Linked DNA regions of Homo sapiens: all the other regions are linked to region 2. The links are contacts of gene promoters, found by promoter capture Hi-C in human tissues and cell types (Jung and others, 2019). All regions are on one chromosome and are shown on one strand. Each heading gives the region's core, a stretch centred on a gene start or on the middle of the fragment in contact. The rest is flanking DNA. Distances are from core to core; before and after follow the strand shown. Region 1 holds the start of RSPH6A (radial spoke head 6 homolog A). Region 2 holds the start of PGLYRP1 (peptidoglycan recognition protein 1). Region 3 overlaps IGFL2 (IGF like family member 2).

What was found. The method cuts DNA at HindIII sites, captures the fragments that hold promoters and counts their contacts. A contact is called where the count stands out against the background at its distance.
Region 1: the fragment with the promoter of RSPH6A here is called in contact with the fragment with the promoter of PGLYRP1 in region 2 in 1 of the 25 tissues and cell types used here (dorsolateral prefrontal cortex).
Region 3: a contact is called between a fragment that was not itself captured here and the fragment with the promoter of PGLYRP1 in region 2, in 1 of the 25 tissues and cell types used here (bladder).

What each region holds. Positions count from the first base shown.
Region 1 is chr19:45,813,900-45,816,599 of GRCh38, forward strand. It overlaps RSPH6A (radial spoke head 6 homolog A), which reads right to left and starts at 1,409. Exons shown (of 6, transcript NM_030785.4): 1 at 628-1,409. The coding sequence starts at 1,277. It overlaps SYMPK (symplekin scaffold protein), which reads right to left. Exons shown (of 27, transcript NM_004819.3): 25 at 2,583-2,678; 26 at 1,952-2,284; 27 at 1,511-1,798. The coding sequence ends at 1,661. The HindIII fragment of the contact is 35,300 bases long and covers 1-2,700 here.
Region 2 is chr19:46,021,729-46,024,473 of GRCh38, forward strand. PGLYRP1 (peptidoglycan recognition protein 1) reads right to left here and starts at 1,325. Exons shown (of 3, transcript NM_005091.3): 1 at 1,007-1,325. The coding sequence starts at 1,293. RefSeq lists an enhancer at 1-818. The HindIII fragment of the contact is 20,258 bases long and covers 1-2,745 here.
Region 3 is chr19:46,155,472-46,158,171 of GRCh38, forward strand. The region is part of intron 1 of IGFL2 (IGF like family member 2); the gene reads left to right. Among named protein-coding and RNA genes, the nearest start is that of IGFL2, 8.6 kb to the left of the region's middle. The HindIII fragment of the contact is 4,857 bases long and covers 1-2,700 here.

The DNA of each region.
Region 1 (2,700 bases), core at 159-2,658, 210 kb before region 2:
CCTGCAATCCTAGCACTTTGGGAGGCTGAGATGGGCGGATCACTTGAGGTCGAGTTTGAGACTAGCCTGGGCAACATGGTGAAATCTTGCCTCTACTAAAAATACAAAAATTAGCTGGGTGAAGTGGAGCGCGCCTGTAACCCCAACTACTCGGGAGGCTGAAGCAGAAGAATCACTTGAACTTGGGAAGGAGAGGTTGCCCTAAGCCAAGACCACGCCACTGTGCTCCAGCCTGGGTGACAGGGTGAGACTATGTCTGGGGGAAAAAAAAAGCAAGAGGGCTTGGGGAGCCAAATCACGTGTTCTGGAATCCTGACTCTGCCATATCCTAGCTGTGTAGTTTTGGGTAAGCGACCCAACTTCTCTGTGTCTCGGTCTCCTCCTCTGTAAAGTAGGATGAGCTGATGTGCTCATCTCCGGTGAGAATTAGGTGAGTGTGTGCAGTGCCAGCACATGTCTGGGAAGTGAATGCTAGCTGTTGTTGGCATTGATTCCGACTCAGCTGAATTAGAGTCACTGGTTTTCCATGAGGGATGATCCCTTGTCTGACTGACTGAGGCAGGCACTTCGGGTGGGGCCCCTCCCTGCCTGGGTCCCCCACCCGCCCCACTCCTAGCCCCTGCTCACAGGCTGAGGTCGCAATTGATGCTGGTCTGCAGCAGGTAGGCCTTGGCGTTCTGCACGGCCAGCTCCAGAGGCTCGGGCTCAGGCACCTGGGCACTGTAGTGTGGGAAGCCCAGCTCAGAGGGCAAGAACTGAAGGGCAGGGTCATCCCTTATGTAAGGCCCGTGCTGGGCACCTTCAGAGAACTGGTCTGTCTGGTAGAGGTTGAACTGGCCCAAGGGGTTGACTGGGGGCTCCTGGAAGGTGGGGTCCAGTTGCTGGAACAGGCTGCTTTGGCCCTGCTGGAGCCGCTGCAGCATTAGGCTGGTGGTGAGCTCGGCGACCTGCATCCTGCTTTCATCAGAGTAAGGCTGAGGCTGGAACTCTGAGGGAAAGCCCGTGTTCACAGATGGGTACTCCATGCCACCCAGCCGGGCTTCCTCAGCCTGGAAGACCTGGGGCATCAGCAAGTTCTCCTGTTGGGACAGGCTGCCCCTCTGTGACCAACCAGGGGCGTTTCGCTGGGCGTCTGGAGGTATCTGCTGCCTCTCCTCGGGGTCCGCTGCCAGGGCCTGAGCTTGGTCCCGACTGTGCCGCCTCTGGGAGGCCTGAGAAGTCCTCCGGCCCGGAGGCTGCTGGGCAGGGCGCTCAGGGTAGGGCGGCAGGTCTCCCATGGTTCGCCAGGAGGCACAGATCTCTAGGAGAAAGGCTTGCAGACAAGGAGGCCAAGCGAGAGCCACCTGTCGACACCGCCGGTTTCTGAGCACCGAGAGAGGGGGCCGTTACCCGTGGAGGGCGCGGGGAGCGGGCCAGGGTGGGTTCCGCGCAGGCTCTGGGCGCGCACTCCCGATCCCGCGCAGCCCCACGGTGGACGTCGCGCCAGACTCGAGACGGCACCCGCGCCCCAGGCCCGCCATCCCTTTTTTTTTTTCTTTTCAGTAACTTGCCCAAGTTCACATCTTTTATTTCTTTTTAAGGCAAAGCACCCGCAGGTCAAGCCCCGCCCCGTCCCCCAGCCCCGAGTCCCTGTCCCACCCCCTTTCCCCCTCGAGCCCCGTCAGCTGTTCCCCTTGGCCTCGGGTTCCCTGGCGTCCTCGGCAGCCGGGCTGGGAGTCTTCATAGCATCTTCTCCAACAGGTGCGAGGGTCTGGGGGCTCCGCTCCTCCTTCAAGGTCAGCCCGCCCGCTGCCGTCTCCTGGTGACCGGGGAAGGAAAGGGCAGCCGGGTGGAGGGCGCGGTCACCTCCACGCTCCCCTTCAGGCCCTGCCCCCTGATGGCCCCTCCTCCCCCACCTTCACCCCGGCCCAGATCCGGCTTCTTCCTTCGCAGCGGAGGCTGCTCTCCCTACCTTGGGTAGGGGGCCCTCGAGACTAGAGTCCAACAGCGCGGCCTCGGTCAGCCCCGAGTCGTCATCCATGCTGATGAAGATGCCCGGGGTCTCGCACTCAGGCCCCTCCTCCCGGAAATCCATGGCTTCCTCAGACGGGGGCGGGCCTGGCCGGGCCGACGGAGAGGGAGAGGGGGAGGAAGAGGAGGGGGCTCCCACTCCTCCCGGCTTCAGCTTCTGTTCCTCCTCCAGCTGCCGCTTTAAGGCCTTCTCCTGGGCCAGTCGCAGGCCGATGAGGTCCTGAGGGGGCCGGGGTGCTGGGGCCGGGGCCAAGGTCAGGGGCTCCAGATCATCCTGGGGATAGGGAGGGCCACACAGAAGCTCAGAGGTGGGTGGCTCAGAGGACGGCCGGAAAGAGAAGGAACCACCCTGAGGTGGTCTTTGAGTTCTTCACCAAGAGCATGGGGAGGAAGGGGCAGTTGTCCCCCAGACCCCCAACTCCCAGCAGGAGCATCCCCTGGGAGACGGGTGGCCCAGAGGCAGGGGTGGCCTGAGTCTCTCGGGGTCAGGAGGAGGCCATGGTGAGCCTTGCTGGCTTGGGGTAGGGGGTGGGAGTCTGGGGATCCAGATGGGTGGGCTGCAGGGCCCTCACCTCCTCCAAGGGCCCCGCAGGCGCCTCCTTGGCCTCTGGCTCCTGCTTGCCGCTGGCCTCCAAGATGGTCATGATGGAGTTAGGGATGTGAGCTTGCTGGGTGGAGAGCAGGAAGGGG
Region 2 (2,745 bases), core at 75-2,574:
TCCCATCTCGGAGTAAAAGCTACAGTCCTCACTGTGGTCCACAAAGCCCTGCCTGGTCCTGCCCTTTCCTCATTTCATTCCGCTCGCCCGGCTGTGTTCAGCCACCCTGTCCTTCCCACAGGACCCGCCCACTCAACCCCGTTGGCTTTGCCCCCAGCACCCCCTGCCACCTGCAGGCCTCTGTCTGCTCCCCCATCCCAGAGCCAAGGCAGCCACTCTCAGGGAGGCTTTCCCTTGCCCCACCCTTCCAAGGAGCCTGTGTGGGTCTGGTCCCAGCCTGAGGTCACCCTCCCTCACCTCTTTCCTTTTATCCATCGCCTCTATCACCGTCTGAATTCACCTGTGGCCTTGGCTTGTTTCTCCCTGCTGGTCTTTCAACCCCAGGAGGCTAGAGTGGCACCGTTCTCCATGCCACATCTGGCACACTGCCTGGCACATAGTAGGTGCCTAATGGTAATAGCCCGTGGCTTTGCGGGCCCCCGTGTGCCAGGCAGTTCCTAGGTGCTTTGCCTGTATTGGCTCATATAAGGAGCAGATGGGCCGCGATTCCATTGACTTTGCCGAGGAGGAAGCTGAAGCCGGGAGGACCCGCCCCAGGCCTCAGCCAGCAATAAGATGAGCTGACCCTGGAACCCAGCTCCGCACTGAGTCAGCCTGGTTTTCCGCCTCCTAACAAAGGCACCAGGCATCAGGAAGGGGCGCCTTCATAAGGCGTCGCGGACACCTTGGTGTGTGTTAGGCAAAGCCTGCCCCTTCTTCCCGGGAGCGGGAGCGGGGCTTGGATTTCAGCCCATCCCCCCTTCTCACGCATCTTTGTGCTGTGAGCACCTGCCCCGGCCCACGTGGTGACCCGAGGAAGAAATGACCTTGTGAGGTTCAGTAAGCTGCTCAGGGTGTCAGCCAGGTGGCCTCAGCACCAGGCCTAGAAATGGTCCCGCTGGCGGGCACTTGCACACCTTTGCCTCTGGGATCCCCAGTCCAGCCCGTGCCCCCCTGCCACACTCACTTGTAGCCCACGTCGCACCAGCCCAGTGTCTTCATGTGGTAGTGCTGCACATTCCGGGCCTGCTGCTGGCACGAGGCGGGGGTGTTGCAGCTGCTGCCCGCCGTGTGCGATACCACCACATAGCGTAAGGGCAGGCTCAGGTGCTGGGCGCACTCTGATGCCAGGGCCTTCCACTCGTTCCGGGGCACTATGGGGCTGCAGCAGGCCGGGTCTTCTGTCTCCTGAGCCGCTCCGAGTCGAAGGAGGCTGGGGAGAGCCCAGGCAAGCAGCATAGAGCGGCGGGACATAGTGGCAGGGCGGCAGGGTCCGGGAGACCGCTAGGAGCGCCCGGTGGAGGGGCCGCCTTTATCTGCTGGGGGATTCCAGGAGTGGCCCGGAAAGTCTTGCTTCACACCCTGCTGGGACTTCCTGCTGGCCCAGCAGACCCCAGACTCAGCTTCCTTCTCTGGCTGGGCCAGGGCGGGATGCACTGTGGTTGGGGTCTGGGTCACGCCCACGGCAATGACAGGCCCCCTCGCTCAGCAGGGAGGGACGCACAGGCCCCTGGGCGCTTCGCCCCGCCGTTTCTGGAAGACCCGGGGCCGGGATCCCGGTCCTGCTTGTCTCTCCTCTCAGTGGAACATTGAACAACTCAACAGGAACTTACATCGCAGAGGCCCGGGGCATTGGCACATCTTCTCCCCGCAAGGACTGAGGTAACAAAGCTACCCATTTTAAAAACACTTCCTTCCCCCAGGTCCAAGCCTGATGCCATTTACGCTTGCAGCAAACTCAAGAGGTGAGTATCTGGAAGTCCATTTCACAGTGGAGTAAACTGAGGTTGAGAGCAGGGAAGTCACGGGCTGAGACACCGGAGGCACTGGAGCCCCGCGTCTAGAGCCAGGCTGCCTGCATGTGAATCCTGGATATGCAGTGTGTGAGAGCCTGCAAGTGGTTTTTAAAAATGTGTATTTAAAATTTTTTTTTTAATTTTCTATTTTATAAATAATATTTTCCTTTTTTTTTTTTTTTTTTTTTGAGATGGAGTTTTGCTCTTGTCACCCAGGCTGGAGTGCAATGGTGCGATCTTGGGCCACTGCAACCTCCGCCTCCTGGCTTCAAGTGATTCTCCTGCCTCAGCCTCCTGAGTAGCTGGGATTACAAGTGCACACCACCACGCCCAGCTAATTTTTATATTTTTGGTAGAGACGGGGTTTTGCCATGTTGGCCTGGCTGGTGTCGAACTCCTGACCTCAGGTGAGCCACCTGCCAGTGTTCCAGAGTGCTGGGATTACTATAGGCATGAGCCACCGTGCCTGACCTGTGTGGTGTGTTTTCATCTTCTGTGTTCTGCCTTCTCATATACATTGTACTCATGCTGTTACTGAATTGTGCACCAGGCATCTGTAGCACTTTTCAGAAATTATCATATACTCAACGACAAGCTTGCCAGATCCATGTTATTATTAACCCCTCTTACAGTTGACGGAACTGAGGCCCGGGGGGATGATCACATACAGGAGGTGATGAAGCCAGGGTTTGGCTACAGGCTTTCTGCCTGCAGAGTTATAAACCGTATTCTCCTCCCTACAAACTTATATAAGGACATTAAAAAAAAAAATCAAAACCATGTGCATCAATTTACCTTTTGTCACCTAATATTTCATGGGCATCTCACCAGGGCAGTACATCTAATTCTAATTTATTCTTTATAATAGTTGCACAATATGCTATAGTATCAGTTCAGCATTGTGGATCTT
Region 3 (2,700 bases), core at 20-2,519, 130 kb after region 2:
AACATTTCTTTATTTGCTGTATGCCCTTAGGACAATTTCCTGAGACTTAACTAGTTGTTTTTATAAAAAAAATAATTTTCATCAGTTAAATGGTTGTTTTGCCGGGAGGAAGGCACCCATGCTCTTCACACTGACTTCTGGAAGTCCTGCTTTATAGTTTGAAATATTTTGCATTTAAGTCTATGATCCATTTCAAATTAATTTTCACATTTTGTGTGAGATAAGGGTCAAGATACATTCCCCCCCAATATAGATATCTATTAAAAGGACTAATCTTTGCCTGGTGAGTTGTAGTGGTACAATTGTGATAAATCACTGATTGTCTGTGTGTGGATCTGTATCTGAACTCTGTTTCATTCCATTGATAAAATTATTTATCTTTCGCAATACCACGCTCTAAATTATTATAGTTTTATGAAACTTCCTGATCTGTTAGGGTAAGTCGTATAACTTTGTTTAGTTTCTTCAATATTGTATTGGCTATCTTGTCATTTTCATTTTCTGGTAATTTTTAAAAAAAATATGTATAGAGTCAGGGTGTCACTGTGTTGCCCAGGCTGGTCTTGAACTCCTGGGATCAAGCAATCCTCTTGCCTCAGCCTCCCAAAGTGCTAGGATTACAGGTGTGAGCCACCGTGCCCAACCATCACTTTCTGATAAATTTTAGAATCACTTTGTTAACTTATACAAAACCTTGCTGTAATATTTATTGAGTTTGCATTGAATTTATCGATCAATTTGGGGAACACTGACATCTTTGTTATATTGAGTCTTCCAAAGCATAAACCTGGTATGTTTCCCATTTACTTAGGTGTTCTTTAGTATCTTTCAGCAGAGTTTTGCAGAGGTTTCTCACCTTTCTTTAGATTTAATTCTAGGTATTTGTTATTTTTGATATCATTGTAAATGGTAATGGAGAATTGGCTTCTATCTAGAGCCGTAAAACAAACCTCAACAAGTTCTAAAGTATTGAAGTTTAACAGAGTAAGTTGTCTGACCATAATTTGATCAAGCTAATGACTACAGAAAGATCTCCAAGCACTTGGCAGCTAAGCAACACAACTCTAAATAACTCATGGTTTAAAGATGAGTCTCAAAGATTTTTAAAACTATATTTAACTTAATGAAATGAAAATACAATATATCAAAATTTATGGAACATATATAAAGCAGTGCTAAGTGTGAAACTTATTGTGCTAAATAGTTGTATTAGAAAAAAGGAAAAATCAATAATCTAAGCTCCCACATCAAGAAGCTAGGAAAAAATAAAAGAGCAAAATAAACCCAAAGCAAGAAGGAAGGAAATAATAAAGAGGAGAGCAGGAGTCGATAAAATTGAAAACAGAAAAACAGTCTAGAAAATCAATGAAATAAAGAGTTAATTCTTTGAAAAGATCAATAATCTTTTGATAGTTTTAGCAAAACTCTCAAAAATTCAAAGAGAAGACACAAATTGTCAGTATCAGGAATGAGACAGGAGATATAGGTTTTGCAGACACTAAAAGAATAATAGTGGAAAACTAGGAATAACTCTACACAATTTGACAACTTAGATGAAATGGACCACCCATTTAAAAGCACAAATGATCACAACACACCCAATATGAAATACATCATTTTAGTAGCCTTATAACTATTAAGGAAATAGAATTCAGAATTTAAAATATCTCCTAAAAAGGAAATCTCCAAGCCCAGATGGTTGCACCTGAGAATCTAACAAATGTTTAAAAAGAAATTGACACCAATTCTGCACAATCTCATCCAGAGAATAGAATAGGAGGGAATTCAATTCATTTCATAAAATCAGAGTTATTTTGCTACTAAAATCATAAAAAGACAAACAAGAACAATGACAACAACAAAGCAATGAAACTATAGACCAATATCCTTCATGCAAAAATCCTTGACAAAATATTTGTAAATTAAATTCAGCAATATAAAAAAATACTTACACATCATGCCTATGTAGGGCTTATTCCAGAATGTAAGCCTGGCAGAATATTTCAAAAATCACTCTCAGTGTAATCCATCATATTAACATGCTAAAGAAGAAAAATGACATGATCACATCAATTGATGCTGAAAAAGCATCTGATAAAATTTAACACCCATTCGTGATTTTAAAAACTCCCAGAAAAACAGGAATAGGGGGAATTTCCTCAACTCGATAAAGTCCATCTACAAAAACCCTACAACTAATATAATAAGTAATGGTGAAAAAGTGAATGCTTTCCACCTAAGACTGAGCAAAGGAGAGGAAGTCTGCTTTCACCATTCTTATTCAGTGTATTGCTGGACATTCTAACCAGGGCAATAAGTCAAGGAAAAAAAGAATTACAATTTATACAGATTGGAAAGGAAGCAATAAAACTGTTCCTATATTTGTAGGCCACACAACTGTCTATGTAAACAGTCCCAAGGAATCTAAAAATGTACTCCTATAACTAATAAGTGAGTTTAGCAAGGTTTCAGAATGCAAGATCAACATAGAAAAAATCAATCGTGTTTCTTTATACCAATAATGAACATGTGGACATTGAAATTAATAACAAAATAGCACCTGCAATTGTTCAAAAATGAAAAAGTTAGGTGTAAATCTAACAAAACATGTACAGGACTTATATGCTGAAAATTACAAAATGCTCCTGAAAGAAATAAATGGAGAGACATGCCATTTTCATGGATTGTAAAACTCAACTA